2 separate regions of the Homo sapiens genome follow, and region 1 is linked to region 2. Evidence: promoter capture Hi-C in 16 types of primary human blood cells and fetal thymus (Javierre and others, 2016). All regions are on one chromosome and are shown on one strand. The core of a region is centred on a gene start or on the middle of the fragment in contact, and the rest is flanking DNA. Distances in the headings are between cores, read along the strand shown.

What was found. The method cuts DNA at HindIII sites, captures the fragments that hold promoters and counts their contacts. A CHiCAGO score of 5 or more calls a contact.
Region 1: a fragment that was not itself captured here is called in contact with the fragment with the promoter of GRIK1-AS1 in region 2 in 1 of 17 cell types (monocytes); the score reaches 5.5 in monocytes.

The regions. Positions count from the first base shown.
Region 1 is chr21:29,598,797-29,601,615 of GRCh38, reverse strand. GRIK1 (glutamate ionotropic receptor kainate type subunit 1) reads left to right here. Exons shown (of 18, transcript NM_001330994.2): 8 at 2,679-2,786. The region is part of intron 2 of GRIK1-AS2 (GRIK1 antisense RNA 2); the gene reads right to left. Among named protein-coding and RNA genes, the nearest start is that of GRIK1-AS2, 4.2 kb to the right of the region's middle. The HindIII fragment of the contact is 3,290 bases long and covers 1-2,819 here.
Region 2 is chr21:29,746,748-29,749,504 of GRCh38, reverse strand. It overlaps GRIK1-AS1 (GRIK1 antisense RNA 1), which reads right to left and starts at 1,330. Exons shown (of 5, transcript NR_027021.1): 1 at 1,205-1,330; 2 at 360-671. All of the region lies in intron 1 of GRIK1 (glutamate ionotropic receptor kainate type subunit 1), which reads left to right. The HindIII fragment of the contact is 19,094 bases long and covers 1,292-2,757 here.

The DNA of each region.
Region 1 (2,819 bases), core at 200-2,699, 150 kb after region 2:
AGATGGAGAGGCTGAGTGGAGGCTGCAGGCTGGGATGAATAGCACAGAGGCTGGAGAGCCCAGGCCTGTTCCAGCTGGGGCTGTGCATAGGGGAGCGGTGGTAGGAAATTCTGGAGACGTAGCTTAGGCAAAATTTTCAAAGACCTCTGTATTATCCAGAATTCTCCAGAGAAACAGAACAATAGGATATATATACAAAGAGGTTTACTATGAGAAATTGGCACACCAACATGGAGGCTGAGAAGTCCCACATTCTACCATCTGCAAACTAGAGACCCTGGAAAGCTGGCTGGTGTAAGTCTAGTCTGAGTCTAAAGGCCTGAGAACGAAGAGCATCGATGATGTAATCTCCTGTTCTCAAGAACAGGTGAAGGCCGCTGTTTCAGCTGTCAGTCAGGCAGAGAGTAAATGCTCTCTTCCTCTGCCTTTTTGTTCTTTTCAGGCTCTACATGAATTGAATGGTACCCACTCACGTGGAGAGGGCTGTCTGCCTTGCTCAGTCCACCATTTCAAATGCTAATCTTTTTTGGAAACACCCTCACAGACACACCCAGAAATAATGTTTGACTAGATATTTGGGCATCGTGTGGCCTAGGCAAGTTGACACACAAAATTAACCATCACAACCTCCAACGTAAAGTCAAGGTTTAGACTAATTTGTAGGTAGAATGAATCCATTATGTACTTTATGTGCTGGTGAAAATTGCATAAATACGAAAATTTACTTGGGGACCGTGAATCTGGTCGTGATTTGTAAAATGAAATACAGCACAGCCAAGTAAAGGCTAAACGTGAGATAGTAATAGCCAAACTCTAGAATTATGAAAGTGGGAAAAGTGAGAGACAGTTATAAAAACAATAAATGTTAAAAATTAAAACGCCTCAAGTTCAGTAGCTTGCCTGAAGTTACACTGCAGATATTCAGCCCTAGAGGTATGGAAAATTCACTGCATTGCTCTGCCTCTTGGCCAAATGGGTAAATACATTCAACATATATACGTGGCGCAAATAACTGCAAATACAGTGTAATTCTTCAGAATCTTCCCATTTTATGCATGTCTAATGAATTTGGTAAAGTCAAGAGGGAGAAAAACAGCTAAGTGGATACAAAGATCTGAGTTTTCCTTTATCCCTATTTGTAAGTGAAACTCAAATCAACAAGGTTGCCAAAAATCACCTAATGATTGAAGCTGAAGACTCTCCCAAGGGCCACCGCTTTTTATTTAATAAAACCACCAGAGATACCCAATGTGAGTTCTGTGAAAGGCAGACTATTGTGAATTTTTTGTTATTTGAAATGATGTTGATATGTAGGGTAGGAAGAAGACCGGCACCCTCAAAAGTTACCCATGTCCTCATCCCTGGAACCTGTAAATGTTAATTTATATAGCAAAAAGGCCTTTGCATAGGTGATTAAGGATTTTTGAGATGGGGAAATTATCCAGGTGAGTTCTATTTAGATTGTATTTACAATCACAAGTGTCTTTATAAGACAGAAGCAGAAGGAGTTTTTTTGTTTTTGTTTTTGTTTTAGACGGAGTCTTGCTCTGTCGCCAGGCTGGAGTGCAATGGCATAATCTCGGCTCACTGCAACCTCTGCCTCTGGGGTTCAAGCGATTCTCCTGACTCAGCCTCCCGAGTAGCTGGGATTACAAGCATGCGCCACCACGCCTGGCTAATATTTTGTATTTTTAGTAGAGATGGGGTTTCACCGTGTTAGCCAGGATGGTCTCGATCTCCGCCCACCTCGGCATCCCGAAGTGCTGGGATTACAGGCGCAAGCCACTGCGCCCGACCCTTTTTGTTTGTTTGTTTGTTTGTTTGTGACAGAGTCTTGCTCTGTTGCCCAGGCTCCTGGAGCGCAGTGGAAGGATCTCGGCTCACCACAACCTCCACCTTGCAGAGGGAGCTTTTATGCAGACAGCAGGGGAGGAGGAAATGTGACCACTGAGGCAGAGATTGGAGTGATGCAACCACAAGAGAAGGAGAAATGCCAGAAGCCACCAGAAGCAGAAGGAGGCAAAGAATAGGGTCTTCCCTCGAGCCTCCAGAGAGAGCACGGTCCCGCTGACACATTAATTCCACCCAGTTAACACTGATTTTGGATTTCAGGCCTCCATAACCTTGAGAAAATAAATTTCTGTTGTTTTGAGCACCCACGTTTGTGATTACTTGCTACAGCAGCCACGGGAAATTATAATGCCCAAATGGTGCAAACACGCTAAGTCATAAACAGCCTAAAAACTGCAATACATCATTGGACTATATTAGTCTATATTCTTTTCACAGAGAAAGAAAAAGCAGGGACTCACTTCCACTCAGCCATATCTCAAAGGGAATTTGGATTGACCTTGGAAAACAGAATATTGTGATTTCTCAGATTTTGTGTATTCCGTGTGCAGACTGTTTTACGGCAATTCTTTCCATACTGTCCATTTAGGTAGCCACGATGACAGGTTTGACTGGGTTAGGATGTTAGAATTGACAGAATAAATGAGTGCTAATAAAAAGACGATGTGTTCTGCTATCTTGTCGCTGAACCAATGCAATGGTTTATAACAGCATGATGAAAACAAATAATTGGATACTGTGATGAATTTGAGGTATTATAATTTTGATGGTCTCAGGAATTATGATAAATGTTTAACAATAACAGCCACATTTCTTCTTGTCCACAGGCCCGGTGGGATGGCTTGACTGGGCATATCACCTTTAATAAAACCAATGGCTTGAGGAAGGATTTTGATCTGGACATTATTAGTCTCAAAGAGGAAGGAACTGAAAAGGTAACCTCCTTAACAATAAATAAATAAAATAAC
Region 2 (2,757 bases), core at 81-2,580:
ATGGGAGCCTTCTTAACTACCACATCCCAAAGAAGTAACAGAGAGCTCAAGCCCTTCAGCCCATTTCACAGATGGAGATGCTGAGGCCAAGGCTATTAGACACGTCCACTATGCTACGTTAGATCGGTGACAAAGCTGATTCTCCTGACTTCCAGTCTAGTGAGCTTTCTATCATCCAGTCCTGTCCCTATGTGATCAGCTGCATAAATTCTGAGTAAAACAACTGACTATATTGTTCAATATCCACTGTAACATGCAACTTGCTCATCAGAAAGTTAAGGCTAACTTTTTCCCCAACAGGAAAGTCAGAAACAAATCATTTTTAGTAATAATGAAGCTCTGTTAGAAGTACCACTCACCTTAAAAATATGTTTAGGAATTATTAATATACTCTCAGCATTCTGATTTTCCTGGCTTTCTGAAGCTAAGATGTTGCAGGAGAGCCTTCGTGGCTTTGATCACAGGCAATCAAAGAGGACTTTGTGTAGCTTCCAGGGACACGCTGTTGCTGGAAAAGTCGGAGCTCTGCTATGCAAAAGAAACTGCTACAGAAATCCCCTTCATTCTTAACTCCAGATCGAATTAGGATCAGAAGGCTCTTGTTCGCTGCCCAGGAGTCTGTGGTTTTAATTTTCTTATCTGCATTTTTCTTTCCTGCCCGTTCCAGGTAGCTGTCACAAAAAATATGAAAAGGGTGTTAATTTGTTGATCGTTCTTTGCTGCTTCTCACTTTCATGTTTACAGCAAGGAGAAGAGCAATTGTTTCTACCAGTAGCTTTAGTATTTTGAGTTCTCATGTGTGTAATAACTATCTTGGTAGGCCCAGAACACACAATCTCATCCAATTTTGAAATTTGGATTTTATGCCAGATGGATTATTTCAGTACGGATTACAAATGCTTATACTATTCTGCCTAGCAGAGTTTGGGTCATAAAAATCATTAAATGTAAAACATTGCACAAAGTTGCCCAAATTGTCATGTCTCTGGCCAAATTTGTGGAAATAAAAGGAGCCATGCATTTGGGTTATTTCTACAGTTTGGAAACTTTGACTCTTATCTTCTCTTAAGCTACTCAGGAAATTTCCAGACTCTAAAATCTGAGAGGAATTGTTCAGACAGACAAAGGTGGTCCAGAATGGAGACTTTCCTGATGCCAAGGATGGCAGGACCCGTGAGTGTCCACTTCACCCCTGTGATCCTACCTCTCGTGAGGCTTTACTGATGACCTTGGCTTCCTCTTTGATGAAACTTTTGGTGGCTGAGCCTCTTGAAACTGACTTGGACAAGCTTGGACAAACAACCTTCTTTTGAATCAACAGAGTGTAACTGAAATACCGTTGGAAAATTCAAACAATACTCTGATTAATGCCAGGGAGAAACAATATGTAAATAAACCCAAGAACTTAAATGAATACTTAAGAAACATACACCTTGCTTTCACAGTGTTAGCTGGAACTCAGGAAAGGGGTGTTGGAAAAAGTGGAGGTGGCATGTCTCTTTTATTTTATTGTTTGAGATGAAACGGGATTAAGCATGTTTAAATTCTAAGGGAGAAAAAGGTTGCTGTAAATTGTGACTTTAAAAAGACTGACATTAAATCACAGAATATTTCTTCAGTGGGCTACTGAAATTTATGTCTGTAATCACTACTCATGCTTTCTATTCTTTTTTCTTTGAGATGGAGTCATGCTCTGTCGCCAGGCTGAAGTGCAGTGGTGCAATCTCTGCTCACTGCCAGCTCTGCCTCCCAGGTTCAAGCGATTCTCCTGCCTCAGCCTCCCGAGTAGCTGGAACTACAGGCACGTGCCACCACGCCCAGCTAATTTTTGTATTTTTAGTAGAGACGGGGTTTCACCATATTGGCCAGGATGGTCTCGATCTCCTGACCTCGTGATCCACCTGCCTCAGCCTACCAAAGTGCTGGGATTATAGGTGTGAGCCACCCGGCCTGGCCCATGCTTTCTATTCTTTCTTCAACAACTGATACTATCTTTCTTCAACCAACTGATACTTTCTGCCTTCGCCTCTTCTCAGGGTCTGCCTTGTTTACCTTAACCCCTGCAGGAAGCCAGATCACAATTGGAGATTTCCTTCCTGATCATGTAAAGAGAACACAACAAGGATTTGGGAGATTAATCTGATGTGTAAGAGCTAGACATATCCTACTCAAAAGGATGCTCTTACTCCCTAGCCAGGACCATGCATAAATGGCATGCCCATATTGCTCTGAGACTTTCTTTTCCCTTATCTTCCCATGGCTGTGCAGACATCAGTTGAGACTATATTCTTTCTTAGTACTCTAATACATTCAGGCAGGTTACAATCAAGTCTTGCAGTCCTGGGAGCTCTTTTGTCTATTTAAGGTAACTGTGATTCTCTACTTTTATTTATTATTTGTTTGGCTCATAGTTTAGCTCTCAGGGAACAATTTTATTTTCATTATTCCTAAGTTCTTGGGAGACACCTTATGGTATCCAACAAAGACTAACAACACCATGCAGCAGTGCAAATTCACTCTAAGTAAACCGATGAAAAATAGACCTTTAATCTGATTGAGGTGTAGAAAATGGCTACCTAAAAGTGATACTTTTTCCTTTTGATTATTTTGTATGGCAGTACCTTGAGTAGGGAAAAAATGTTTTCTTTTTCTCTGTGTGTAAAAATCACCAAAAGTTACTTTGAACATCAAAAGAACACCACTTTAAATTGCATTTCTGGTTGTTCCCTTCAATTGGCAATTCTCTGGTTTATATTT